Regions from separate parts of the Homo sapiens genome. Here regions 1, 2, 3 and 4 are each linked to region 5. Evidence: promoter capture Hi-C in 16 types of primary human blood cells and fetal thymus (Javierre and others, 2016). All regions are on one chromosome and are shown on one strand. Each heading gives the region's core, a stretch centred on a gene start or on the middle of the fragment in contact. The rest is flanking DNA. Distances are from core to core; before and after follow the strand shown. Region 1 overlaps SPRED2 (sprouty related EVH1 domain containing 2). Region 2 overlaps AFTPH (aftiphilin). Region 3 has its middle 5.2 kb from the start of SPRED2. Region 4 overlaps LINC02579 (long intergenic non-protein coding RNA 2579). Region 5 holds the start of CEP68 (centrosomal protein 68).

Region 1 (2,700 bases), core at 8-2,507, 350 kb after region 5:
GGGAAGTAGGGGTGGAAATGGAAGGTTGGGGGCAGAAAGCAACTCACACTTCACTTTCCTTCTGCTTAGCACATCAGCCCACCTTGCTGTACACAAGAGGCAGGCTAAAAATAGTAACATCGTTTTCCTTTCCACCCTTGCAGGAAGCTAACCTGTTCCACCAGAATGGCCTGATAAAGGCAGCCGCACTTCCTTAGAGATAAAATCCACCTTTCCTGAGAGCTCAGCCTTGAGAGTGAGGCAGGGCCCTCCATCAAGCTGCCTGCCTTGGAGGCTCAGGCAGGGCTCTGGTCCAAGTTACTGGACAGTGGAAAGTTTAGTCTCTCTTTTTTTTTTTTTTTGAGACGGAGTCTCGCTCTGTCGCCCAGGCTGGAGTGCAGTGGTGCCATCTCGGCTCACTGCAAGCTCCACCTCCTGGGTTCACGCCATTCTCCTGCCTCAGCTCCTGAGTAGCTGGGACTACAGGCACCCACCACCATGCCCGGCTAATTTTTTGTATTTTTAGTAGAGATGGGGTTTCACCATGTTAGCCAGGATGGTCTCGATCTCCTGACCCCATGATCTGCCCGCCTTGGCCTCCCAAAGTGCTGGAATTACAGGTGTGAGCCATAGTCTCTTTCTCAAATGGGGCGCTGGCTCCTTTTTTTTTTTTTGCTAAAAGTCCCATGACAGAAGGATTCTGACTTCACAGCTAATGTGAACTGACAATGAAGACTCCCAAACCACAATAACTTAACAGGAAACTGAGGTGGCTGCAGGTGTGTGTGTGTGCGTGTGTTGTGTATTGGGGGGCATTTTGGGGGGCATTTTGATTGTCTTCATCAAGTCAAGATTCAGCACGAGGGGGTTCTAATCTATTGCTGTGTAGCCATGAGAGCTGCAATCAAGAAGGTAGGTGCATGGCATGCAAACTTCCTCTCTGCAGGGGGTGGGAAGTGCTGCCAACTTAAAGCTTATCTCATTCTGAGTCTTCATGTCAATGACTGTCATGCACATCCCTGTTCACATGCCTTGGAAATCTAGGTTTGGGTGTCTGGTTTGGTTAAACCAAAAGATCAACTCTCCTCAGCTGGATCACTTGTCCTTTCACCCGTGGAGACGCGGTATCCACTCATGCCTCCGTGCACACAGGTAGACAGAAAAGGGTGGGAAAGGTGGAGCACAGGGAACCTCCCCATAACTCCAACTGGAGGACAGTTCTCTCTTCCACTCTTGGGAGTGTCTTAAAATACTAACATGACCGAGTGCAAAGCTCTAGCTATATTTTTACTTCTCAGAACAAACAACAACAAAATATCAAAAGCTGGGCAAGGGAGCCAGAGGTCTAAAGGGGCAAGAAGAAAGAATGTTATCAAAACGATTATGACATGGTCCCTGTGTAGAGAGGCATTCCCTAATAGGCCACCAACCCAGGCTATCTTCCTTTTACCCATCAGTCTGATTTCAGCTCCTCATAAAACCAGTCTCTTGAGCTTCTCTCCTTGCCTGCTGGTTCCATCTTCTTAAGATCTTATCAGAGGAGCAAGATCCTTCCCTTCTGCCCAGACCTTGGGTCCTTTCAACAAAGCTTTAGGCTGAAACTTCTTTCCAGACACCAGTAATGATCACCCGGCATGTATTAGGCACCTCAAACATGTCAGACACTGCTGCGGACACTTTCATGTGCTACATGTAATTTAATCCTCACAAGCCTCATACTATGAGTCCTATTTGACAGACAAGAAAGCTAAAGTTTGGGAAGATAAATATGCAGTATAAGGTAGAGTCAGAATTCAAAATCAGCTCCCCTGACTTTGAGGCAGAAGCTGTTTTTATGATGCCACAGATTCCTGTAGGAATTCCTTGTATCCCTTCTTCTCTGAATTGATCATAGAGCTCCAGGCAAATTGCTCGGACCAGAACCAGAGCCCCCTTCCAATGTCTGTATGTATAATCCCAGTCGCCAGCCACAGGAATTAGTCAGTTACATAAGGGGACTTTTGAAGTTCTTTTTTTTTTTTTTGAGACGGAGTCTCACTCTGTCACCTAGGCTGGAGTGCAGTGGCGCGATCTGCAACCTCTGCCTTCTGGGATCAAGCAATTCTTCTGCCTCAGCCTCCTGAGTAGCTGGGACAATAGTCACGTGCCACCACACCCAGCTAATTTTTGTATTTTTAGTAGAGATGGGGTTCCACTATACTGGCCAGGCTGGTCTTGAACTCCTGACTTTGTGATCCGCCTGCCTTGGCCTCCCAAAGTGCTGGGATTACAAGCGTGAGCCACTGCACCTGGCTCTAAAGTTCTTAATAGCCCATAAATATTGCCCTAATTCTGCCTTTCATCATAACCCTTATATCCTATAGTCCTTAGCCTGTGTGAGACCACAATTACCTGTAGATATCTCAAAAGTCACAGATGTCATTTACAGATCACCTCTTCATCGACCCCAGACCTTTATGCACATAAATCAACTGACTTAATACAACAGCCCAGAAAAGGAAGTATTATGAGCCCTTTTTCTATATTCAAGGACACTGAAGTTTTTGAAAGGTTCAGGTAATTTAACACTGGTCGCACAGCTAATAAGCAGCAAAGGGAAATTCACACCCAGGTCTGTCCTAGTCTAAGAGGTACTGTCTAACACAGTAGCAGCCAGCAGCCACAAGTGGCACTGAGCACATGAAAATGGAGATGTGCTCCAATTATAACATACAAGCGGCA
Region 2 (2,700 bases), core at 168-2,667, 500 kb before region 5:
GTGTAAAAAATGGTGATAGTAGTAATGACTTTGTGACTTGCAATGATATCAATGAAGATGATTTTGGTGATTTTGGTGACTTTGGCTCTGCCAGTGGCTCAACTCCACCTTTTGTTACTGGTACTCAAGATTCAATGAGTGATGCCACTTTTGAAGAGTCTTCAGAGCACTTTCCACATTTTAGTGAACCAGGTGATGACTTTGGAGAATTTGGGGATATAAATGCTGTTTCTTGCCAAGAGGAGACAATATTAACAAAGTCAGACCTAAAACAGACTTCTGATAATTTATCAGAAGAATGTCAATTGGCAAGAAAATCTAGTGGAACAGGCACTGAACCTGTTGCAAAACTTAAAAATGGGCAAGAAGGTGAGATTGGACATTTTGATTCTGTGCCAAATATTCAGGATGACTGCAATGGTTTTCAAGACTCTGATGATTTTGCAGACTTCAGTTCAGCTGGTCCTAGCCAAGTTGTAGATTGGAATGCTTTTGAGGATGAACAAAAAGATAGTTGTTCTTGGGCTGCTTTTGGAGACCAGCAGGCTACTGAATCTCATCATCGAAAGGAAGCCTGGCAGTCACATAGGACAGATGAAAATATTGATACTCCAGGAACCCCCAAAACGCACAGTGTACCTTCAGCAACTTCCAAAGGAGCAGTTGCTAGTGGCCATTTACAGGAATCAGCCACTTCAGTTCAGGTATTTACTAATTTTCTCTATTTTGTATGATGTATTAATTGTTGTGGAGGCTTCTAATTTCAGCTTTTCAAAAAATATTTTTTCAACTGAGTACTTGTTAAAGGAGTCTCGTTATGATGTATAATGCCTGTCTGATTTGTGGGTTGGTTACATTTTTCACAACCCTTTGGGAAACTACAAATAGTCCTATAGTAAAGCGCAGTAAGATTTTTCTTTATCTCAATGAGTTTCGTTAATATTTACAGATACTCATCAACTTGGATTTTTTGGTGACTATAAATACCATATATGTTAAAAAAAAAAAAAAAAACCCACACTTATTACCTAATTGACGGTTCCAGTCAATCCTTCAGTATTACCCTTTACAGTGATTTTAAAAGAAGGTTAAACTGAGATTTGGATCTTTTTTTTTTTAAGCTTAAGAATAGAATGTTAATTTTTTCCATCAAAGACCTAGGAAATTCAAGTACGGTTTTGATTCCAGGAGAGAACAAGCAGAATTTGAAACCTCATTCTGTGCCAAAGGCTATAGTGAATTGAAGAACAGAAAAACAACTAGAAAAAAGCAAGTTTTTCTTTTTCCTCATAATTTAGCAGCTGCTAAAAGACTTGGGGTGAGGGTATGAGATGAATTAAGGTTTAGTCCTAAAATAAGAAATAACTATAGGTTCACTTATTGTAGTTGTATTTATTTGCCTATACTTTCTTACAAATGTACTTGTTAGCTCTTCCTAGAGAGTAGGTGTGTCAGGGAGAATATTTTTACCCCTTACCTCCTATACATTATCCTTTTTTGATTCAGACTCTTTCAGAAAAGATTCATTAAGATTCACTTTGACCTAAAGTAGCCCCTAGAGGTGTAGCTTGATATCTAGGTTGTTCCCCAGTCCAGAGTTCTACTCTGTGCTAAACTTTACCTTTTTTCAACTCCAGGGGTGTGGAAGAGGGCACTCCCTTGAACCTCACTGCCTTATACTGACAATTGATATATGTAACTAACACCTGATCCACAAGCTTATTTTAAATATACTGTTAATAAACTCAGAATCTACAAACTTTATTTCTCCAGTTATCTTCTGCTAAGAAAACCATTTTCAACTGGAAATCTTTCCAAAGTCTTTGTAATTGAAATACTTATATTTCATTGCCTTGATAACTTTGAGACAGTAAGATATTAGAGAAATTATGGTATTACCAGTTGGTGTGCATAGCTAATCGCTTTTTAGTTGGCTTTTGTGTCAAAGTAGTTTAATTTGCTAATTCAGTTATTACATGGTTTAGCTAATGTGTATTATTCCTATTGAGCAGTTCATTATTTAGGCAGAACCTTGCCATTTTAAACAAGAAGTGAACTAATTATGATGCTAAATGAGGACTGTTGCTTTTGACCTAACCCTTTCCCTATTTAGTTTCATCTCACTAGAGGATAGGGTGACACTGGTATTGGGTGATCTTTAATTTGTAGCCTTAGAACTTTTAACATCATCAGATAATGAATTTTTTAAAGTGTGACCACTCAAGTAGGAATTTCTTGCATCATACAAGTTGATTGAAGTTATTTATGTATAATTTGATAACTGGATATAGGAGATAATAAAGCGTATGGGCTTCATGGAATCTGACAGATCTGAGTTTGAATTTTGACCCAGCCTCTTAAAAAGCCTTATGATTTTTGGATAGGTTACTTCTGAATTCAGCTGTATATACAAAGAAGGTAATACCTACTTCAAAGAACTTTTGTGAATATAAAAGGAAATTTTAAAATGAGTGAAATAATCTGCTAGAAAATAAGAATTTTATAGTATGATTCTTTTTTTTATAAAAATAAAACAAACTATAGATGGGGCAAGATGCATTAAGAGTTTCTGAGACCAGGTGCAGTGGCTCATGCCTGTAATCACAGCACTTTGGGAGGCTGAAGTGGGTGGATCACTTGAGGTCAGGAGTTCTAGCCCTGCCTGGCCAACATGGTGAGACCCTGTCTCTACTAAAAATA
Region 3 (2,700 bases), core at 20-2,519, 380 kb after region 5:
TGCCTTTATTATGATGTTTAAGTAAGCAGTCGTGTGTGCCAAGTGAGTTTGTAGCCCAGCTGTCTCCCCCAAGCCCCGCTGGCAGGAATGGAAACCCAAGCTCTCTCGTAATGCAGGGGATGATGCAAACTTAGAAACTGACCCGGCGCCCGGGAATGAGGCCCCCCCGCCCCGGGCGTGCGGCGGCCCAGTCGGGGCATGAATGGCTGGAGCCCGATTGCATAATCCGCGCGGTATAAATAGCCGGCGGGCGGGCCGCTGACGCGCTCGGTTGTGCCGTTATCGTGCAATGCTTCATCCCCGGTGCCGTTCAATCCCAGGTCGTTTTCCCTTTCAGCTGCAATGCCGGGATTTTAAATAGCAGAGATGAAAGGCCCCTGCCCCCGCCTCCCTCCTCCCCTGAGTTCATGTATTATGAATGAAACGGCAGCCTCGCTGCTTCCTGAGGTGCTCCACTTCAGGTAGGAGAGAGACTCAATGTCAAGGCAGCTGGCTACTAAAAGTTGGGTGTGTGCGCGCGTTGGGGAGGGACGGAGACCAGGAAATAATTGACAGGCTGGGAAACATTCTTTTCGAGAAAATGTAACCGCTCAGGGTTTGCCTCTGGAGTTTCAGTTTACAACTGTACAAGCCTCAGTCAATTTAAGAATGGATTATGCAAAGGGGCTTTCGACTGCGGCTTGCTCGCCCTCACACCCTAGGCCGCTGTCTCTGTGGAAAGTGCTGTTTCATTCAGAGGAGCTGGTTTCTGCCCTCCCAGGGAGGCAGCACACATCCCCTCTCCCCTCTCATCCCCCACTTTAAGATGAGCCCTGAGAACCCTTGAGGGTCTCGAGAAAAGCGAATGCTGGTCACTGTAGCCATTCTCTAGTTCCAGAACCTCTTGGAAGCCTCAGCGAGGTCCAAAGCTGAGTAAGTTTTAAAACGTATTTTTTTTCCAACAGTTTTTCAACAATAGGTAGTCATTTTAAAAATTAAAGGATGAAGCAAGTTTTCGTCTTCTCATGAATACCAGATTTCAACTTAATTTCTTAACATAAAAATGGCCAGTTCTTCACAAATGCATTTCTGACATGTGAAGGGCAATGGTCAAGGTCATGATTTTTTTCACTGGATACCCATTGCTCCAGTCTGCCTTGAAAGCACCAGGGCTCTATGAGGCAGTGGGGATACAGGAGTGAAGAAACCCAGGCTCCTTCCCTCCAGGGATTCGGTCAGCTGGGGCAACAGGCATGTAAAAAACACATGAGGCCGCGAGGTAACAGCTCTGAAAAATGGAGTAAGCAGAAGAGAAAGCAGGGGTCAGGGAAAGGATCCTTGAAAGATGCTGGGAGTGCCCTTAGATAACTGGAAGGGGAGAGATCTCGGGGATAAAGAGCCGGGTTACCACAAAGGCCCTAGGTGCGAAATAACTTTGGGAGGAGGGGGAAGGAGGTGCGGGAAAGGGTGGAGAAGGGTAGAAGCCAGGTCAGGGAGGTCACACAGGCCTTGCTGAAGAAGGTTACCCTTTATTTTGAAATCATGGAACCTTTTGTAGTCGATTCACAGCTGATCTTTGTCTAGTCCCAGATCACTGCAGTGGCTCCCAAAGTTATGCAAATGTGGGGCAAGTGGGCATCCATTGTTCTGGGATTAGGGCATCAAACCAAATTCACAAACTGACAGCTCCTAGGCCAGATAAGGCCCCAGACAAGTTTTGTTTTGCCTGTTTTTTTTTGTTGTTGTTGTTGTTTTTTAATCAAGCTAACAGCTTAAAACCAGAATATTTCACATAAAACTCAATATTTTTGGTTCCTCCTGAAAAAAATTAAAGACTTAGCAACTGTGAGTGCCAGATTTCTGCGGGGTAACAGTGGATGGTTGCTGAGTGGAGGCTGCCCTGTCTGTCAGGCTTCTGGCTCCTGGAGGCATTTGAGCTTTTGACCCCTGGCATAACAGGATGTTTTGTGACTGGGTGAAGGCCCCACTCTGAGACCCCAGGCTGGTAGAGCTTGTCACTGGGTAAAAGCAATTTGCATGAGGAGCGCTGGGCCTCTTGGGAGGCCAATCCCCAATCTCCTTACCAAAGACACTGTATTCTACCTAGGCAGGCAGCCCACAGGCAGGGAGCAGTGAGGCTCCTAAAATAACAATGAACATTGATCCCAGCTTGGGCTCTGTTTCTAGGGAACCCAACCTAAGAGAAGTAGGCTCTCTCCCACCAGGGGAGCTGGAGGGGCTCAAGTGATCAGCTGAGAAAATCACCAAATTTGTGGAACAAGTTTTACAAGTTACATAACCAAATAGTTTAAGCAGGGAATGCTAGGCTCAGGTTTTATACTTTAATAGGTTATTCTAGGCTTGAAGGATGGTTTGTTGGGAGCAGAGCAAAGACTGGTTTGGGAGAAATTTTCCTCTTCCATGACAGGAGTAACAATGCATGATAAAGCACAGTGACAAGGGCCATGGAAAGAAGTAACCAATTCCAAAGACACAAATGGGGTAGAAATGACTTGGCTTTATGATCTGTTAGATATGGGGGCTCATTGAGAGGTCTAGGATAAATTCCAAGTTTCTTTCCCTTTTCCTTGGGAAATTGGGTGTTTTCTGGTCTCTTAACATGATTAGGGTAATAAGTGGGGAGTAGGAAGAAGGCTGGGATCACTCAAGATGGAGAAGCACGATGAGCAGTTGCTGCCACACAAGTCTGGGACCCACACA
Region 4 (2,700 bases), core at 156-2,655, 440 kb before region 5:
AATGGAGAAAGACTCTGTCTCAAAAACAAACAAACAAACAAACGGAAAAACCTAACAATGTGGGAGGGGTTTAAAGAAGAGAGCTCAGTCACATGAGAGAACAATCTGCAGCCATCAAAAAATCCCATTTTCAAAACAGTTCTAATGACATGGAGAATTGCTCATGATATGAGGTAAAAAGCAGCATAGAAAATGGTATTGTATGATACCTACTTTATGCAAAATACATATTATTTGCCTAAGGAAACATATATTTTTAAAAAGGACTGGAAGAGAGTTTGTCAAAATATTAACAATGATTTTCTTTGGGTGATGGGTTCATAGGTGATATTTGGTTTCTGCTTTATTTTGTCTGTTTTCCATAATGAGCACATGTTACTTTTGAATTAGAAAAATAATTTAAGAACCTGCAATGTTCTAAGCATTGTGCCAGACTCAAAGATGAATAAGCTACAAAGACGTATTTTCTGCCTTGGAGGAACTCATCATGGTCAATGGAGATAAGAGGTAGCCAGAAAATCGCAGTGTGGGGCAGGGTGGGACAAGTGTATAAGAGAGAGAGGGGCAGGACGCAGTGGGAGCTCAGGGGAAGGACAGAAGACATCCCCTGAAATCTAAGTTCCCTGGGAGCTGGCACCTAGGAGGTCAGCAGAGCAGGGTGGGGTCAGAGTCCCAGCTCTGCTCCCTGATGCCCTGTAGCTTTGGGCAGGTTTCACTAACTAGTCTGGCTTTCCCGTCTGTAAAATGGGATAATGAAAGGTTTTTGTGAGCAATTAATAAGGTAATGAATACAAAACATGGTCCCTGGCACAGAGTAAGTGCTCAATAAAAATTACATTTACAATAGAATTTCTAAAGTCAAGTCTGGGCAGGAAAGTGCAAGGGTAGCGAGGAACTGGTTGAGGTTGCTTGGGGTTCACAGGGAAAGGGTGGGAGACAGGATACAGGATGCCAGCCAAGGGGCACAGCTTCTGGCATAGGTGCTGCACCGCCCTGGAGGCTGGGGGACCAGTTGGGTGGGGGTTGCCTCCTGTGCCCCCTGAGCAACAGAATAATGGAGGATGGCTTGGGGATGAAAGGATGGAGAGTCAACGGGCACAGTGGCTCACGCCTGTAATCCCAGCACTTTGGGAAACCAAGGCGGGTGGATCACCTGAGGTCGGGAGTTTGAGACCAGCCTGATCAATATGGTGAAACCCCACCTCTAACAAAATTAGCCGGTCATGGTGAGCATGCCTGTAATCCCAGCTACTTGGGAGGCTGAGGCAGGAGAATTGCTTGAACCCGGGAGGCGGAGGAGGTTGCAGTGAGCCGAGATCGCGCCATTGCACTCTAGCCTGGGCAACAAGAGTGAAACTCCATCTCAGAAGAAAAAAGAAAGGATGGAGAGTCTGGAGCTAAACTCAAAGCCCTTAGCCCTGACTGGAGAGGGTGAGGGCATGAAGGGACCTCCACAAATCACCCTTGGCATTAATCAAGCATCTACAGTGTTGTATGTGCTCTGTTTTTAGTCCTGTTATAACCTTGAATATCAACATTACTATCTCCATTTTACAGATGCAGAAACTGAGGCCCGGGACCACACACCTGACACCAAGTGGACTAGGATTCAGGCCGTTGACCATATTCTTTCAACTTCAGGAGCAACAGCACCTGGAGGACCCAAATTTGCTGTCATCCTCCACGAGGCCTCAGCAGTCTCCAACATGGAAGGGCACTGAGCCAGCCTGGGGGTTTCCAGGGACCTTCCTGACTGAACACTGGAAAGACCCTTTCATTCCATCCTGTCCCCCAGGTGGGACCCCACGCCCTGAGGTGGAACAGAGGTGAAGAGGAAGGGGAGCGGCTCCTGTGCATTTTAATAGAAATGAATTCAAGTAAGTGTGAGAATGTCATAAATCCCTCAAGAGGGCTAGAGGTGGTGGAGGAGCCCCTGTATCCCCAGGTGATCCCTCTGATGCCTTGACAGGTTCTCTCCTGAAGGACTCAGTTCCTTGGGCCCAAACTTCTCCAGTCTCTCATGAAAGGAGATGAACTGCTTCAGATAAAGTGCTAATCTTCAGCCTCAAAGTCCTCAGAAGGGTAAGATTGCTATGTATCTGAAGATGGGTGCAATAGAAAAGCAAATGTCCCATAAGACCCCAGCTCTCTCCTCCTCCACTGAGAGCGCACACTGTCTACAGGGCAAGTCTCGTTGCTTGAGAAAGTTCTTTTAATTTTTTCCAATCCACCTGGCAAAGAGCCTGACCACAACGTCTGTCTCACCCTCCTTCCCGAAACTTCGGTCTCCCCCATGGGATTTTCAGAATTTGGGAGGGGGTGCTGTGTTGCTTTGCAGTTCTGCTGCCCATTTTTCACAAGAGAAAACTGGGTGTCAACGAAATGAGAATAGATTCTGCAGTGAAAGCATTTGGAGCCAGACAGTGGGAGAAATCTGATGTATAACAGTGGTTTTCAACCACGGCTGCAAATTAGAAGCACAAGAACACTTCAAAAAATACTCATACCCAGGCCCCACCAAATATTTATCTTGAGATGGGATGCTTTCTTGCCTGCTTTCCTTGTGTGTGGGGTGTGTGTATGTGTGCTTGTGTGTGTGATATGTGTGTTTTAAAAAGTCTTCCAGGTGATTCTAATATGCCAGAGCTAAGAATTACTCACCTAAAATAAGACAACTGTGTTAGAAAGAATATCCAATAG
Region 5 (2,700 bases), core at 31-2,530:
AAATAAAACCATCTGTGGGCTAGCTGCTGCTGTTGTCCAAAGTTTGTGGCCCCTGGGTTAGACAAAACCTCTGAGCTGTCCTGACAGGTCTGGGAAAACCAAACAAGTCCTTGTCTCCTAAACTACCTGGGACTCAAGAGCTCTGTAGGAAAAAATTTGTACCCTGCACCCAGCTGGGGTTGACATTTACAGACGCCTGTTTTATGAACTGGGGAGATATTCAGTTGAAGCCAGATTGCTGAAAGTGCTGCTGAGAGAAAATCATCAGAAGGGAGGGCCTCTTCCCCACGCCACCCTGGTGGTAGTTCCTCTATGCCTCCGGATTCTGCTAAGCAGTAAAAGCTAAAGGGCAGTGTCATTAAGCTCCTAGGGGATGGGATGCAGTGGCTCACACCTGTAATTCCAGCACTTTGGGAGGCCGAGGCGGGAGGATCGTCTGAGTCCAGGAGTTCAAGCCCAGCCTGGGCAACACAGCAAGACCCCATCTTTGCAAAATAGATAGATAGATAGAGATGTATGAAAGTTACTAGGTCCCATGCTGGCAGGGGAGAGAGTGAGCACCCTGGCCTCCCACAAGCTGCCTCCCACTTCCCTCCGACTCCATCACCGATTTCCCATCAGAGCAGGCTGCTCAGAGTGGCTAAGTAGCTACCAGTTCATTTTCCACACCCTTCCCATTCTCCACGAGCCAGAGCTCCACCTCCCCCCAGAAGCTGTCTTCAACCACCCGGCCTGGGGAGCTCCCCTCAGCACTGGCTCCCCGCCCCGCCTCGCAGCACCTGTTCGGGCCTCGGTCGCGCCGCCGGGTCTTGCAGACGCGAATGTAAACAGAAACACAGTGAAAGGCGTTCGGAGAGCCTCGTGACTGCGGCACGGCGGCGAGCCGGGAACATCAGTGCGTCCAGAGCAAAATGAACGAATGTACGCATGACTCCTGGAGCGACCTTCACGAGGGAAAGCGCGCCCCCCGGCACCCACCCCTAAGCGCCCCAAAATGACCAGCCTTTACACAACCCAGCTCGCAGGCGAAGCTGAGGTCGGAGCTCCAAAAGCGAGGGAGGACAGCCGCTGAAGAAGTCCCGGCTTCCCATAGGCCAGGACGAAGTAGGGGGCGGGCTCATCTTGCAGGAGCGTCCACGTATTGGTGGAGCCGCGGACTTAGAGCTGCGATTCGCTGCGCGAAATTGCCGAAAGCCCTCCCGCGGAGGGAGAAGGGGCGGGAAGAAGGGCGTGGTCAGCGCGGCCGAAGGGCGTGGTTGGCGCTCGGTCCTGCCCTGCGCGTTTTGGGCTGCGGTTGGAGGGCCGCAGTTGCAGTCAGGGTCCGCCAGCTCGGGGCCAGCGCATGGGGCTGCTGAGACCGCTCCGGACGTGCGAAGCGTTCGCGGTGCGGTAGGTAGGCAGTGTCCCGCGTGCGGGTGCTGGTGTCGGGGGTGCCGCGGCGCTGGGGGCGGTGGCCCGGGCTAGATCCGCGCGCGCGCCCGGCCCCCTCCCCCGCGTCTCTTCGGTGCCTGCGGGGCCCTTGCGGTGCGGGCCGTCTGGCCTCGCGTCCCCGCCGGCAAGGGCACAAAGGCTCCCTGGGGGGCGGGGGCGCCTCGTGCCTTCGCCTCCATCTTGCGAGCGGAACGGCGTGTGCTGTGGCGGCCGAGGGGTCGGGGCCGAGGCGGGCGGCTGGGCTTGGGAATGCCCGGGCGCGGCGAGGGAGTGCGCGAGTCCGCGCATCTGGCGGCCGAGCAGCTGCGCCGCTGGTCGGCCTGGGCCCCGGGGGAGGTCACTTTCCCTCAGGCCTCTCCCGGGCGTGGGCTGTTTACCCAGCTCCCCAGTCGGGGCTAATGCAGCTCGGGCCTTTCCCCCTGGAAAGATGGAGACCAGTGATGTCTTCTTATCGCCGCGCCCAGATGCGGAGAGAAAAAATCAAGATGTCTCATTTTTTTTGCCTCGGAGGGCTACCCTTTCTAACTGTCATCACTAGAACAGTTCTCAGCAGCCTGGGGACGAATGTCCAAAACCTGTTCCAGGCCCTTGATGATTAGTAGGTTGGGTTTAGTGTATTGTTTGTAACAAAAATGAGCGGAAGCCTGCCAGGGCAGATTGGACCTCACTGGGAATTCATCAGGACCACGAAGGGAGGTAGCGTTTGTAAATAATCTAACAGTTCTCAGATCTAGGGTATGAAGAGTGTTGTGTTAAAGTGTGTAACAAAGGTTGTTGGGTCAGTTTGCCTTGGGTTTAGTTGAAAGATCTAGAAGTCACCACTTTTTACTTTGTTCCCTCCATTCCCCTTTCCCACCCTCTGTTGAGTCAATTCTGGCCCACTTAGAAAACAACAACAACAAAAAACCCAAGGAATTCAGTTTAACCTCTTTTGCGCAAAGCTTTTTAAAGCACTTCCCCACCCTGCGACTGATAACTCCTCCCTTTTTTGGGCTACCTTCTGCAGCCTCTGTTTTTACTCATCACACTGTATTGTGGTTTCCCCAGCCCCTAGCACAATGCTTGGAACATAAAAGGCACTCAATGATGGAAGGAAGCCAAAAGGAAACAAAATCAGCGTGGTAGTCTAAAGGTGACACAACAGAAACATTTATTTAACTTCTTGAGCGAGTTATTCTTACAGGTTAGGAAGGCAGCTAAGCTCAGGCTCTCTAAGTCAAACAGGCTTTAGCTCTGCCATGTTACTAACTCTGATTAATTTTTTTTTTA

What was found. Contacts are between HindIII fragments. The CHiCAGO score rates a contact against its expected background, and 5 or more counts as called.
Region 1: a fragment that was not itself captured here is called in contact with the fragment with the promoter of CEP68 in region 5 in 1 of 17 cell types (fetal thymus); the score reaches 5.7 in fetal thymus.
Region 2: a contact is called between a fragment that was not itself captured here and the fragment with the promoter of CEP68 in region 5, in 1 of 17 cell types (monocytes). The highest score is 5.4, in monocytes.
Region 3: a fragment that was not itself captured here is called in contact with the fragment with the promoter of CEP68 in region 5 in 2 of 17 cell types (fetal thymus and erythroblasts); the score reaches 7.0 in fetal thymus.
Region 4: a fragment that was not itself captured here is called in contact with the fragment with the promoter of CEP68 in region 5 in 1 of 17 cell types (erythroblasts); the score reaches 5.5 in erythroblasts.

The regions. Positions count from the first base shown.
Region 1 is chr2:65,406,606-65,409,305 of GRCh38, forward strand. The region is part of intron 1 of SPRED2 (sprouty related EVH1 domain containing 2); the gene reads right to left. Among named protein-coding and RNA genes, the nearest start is that of SPRED2, 25 kb to the right of the region's middle. RefSeq lists an enhancer at 335-384. The HindIII fragment of the contact is 615 bases long and covers 951-1,565 here.
Region 2 is chr2:64,552,706-64,555,405 of GRCh38, forward strand. It overlaps AFTPH (aftiphilin), which reads left to right. Exons shown (of 10, transcript NM_203437.4): 2 at 1-704. The region is part of intron 5 of LOC105374773 (a long non-coding RNA gene); the gene reads right to left. Among named protein-coding and RNA genes, the nearest start is that of MIR4434, 29 kb to the left of the region's middle. The HindIII fragment of the contact is 597 bases long and covers 1,120-1,716 here.
Region 3 is chr2:65,436,422-65,439,121 of GRCh38, forward strand. No RefSeq gene overlaps it. Among named protein-coding and RNA genes, the nearest start is that of SPRED2, 5.2 kb to the left of the region's middle. RefSeq lists a silencer at 175-333 and an enhancer at 928-1,734. The HindIII fragment of the contact is 3,999 bases long and covers 1-2,700 here.
Region 4 is chr2:64,611,209-64,613,908 of GRCh38, forward strand. It overlaps LINC02579 (long intergenic non-protein coding RNA 2579), which reads left to right. Exons shown (of 4, transcript NR_034023.1): 2 at 1,558-1,877; 3 at 1,970-2,082. Among named protein-coding and RNA genes, the nearest start is that of LINC02579, 5.2 kb to the left of the region's middle. The HindIII fragment of the contact is 5,627 bases long and covers 1-2,700 here.
Region 5 is chr2:65,055,136-65,057,835 of GRCh38, forward strand. CEP68 (centrosomal protein 68) reads left to right here and starts at 1,281. Exons shown (of 7, transcript NM_015147.3): 1 at 1,281-1,393. RefSeq lists an enhancer at 874-1,113 and silencers at 1,214-1,323, 1,404-1,743, 2,374-2,423, 2,434-2,513. The HindIII fragment of the contact is 3,790 bases long and covers 1-2,370 here.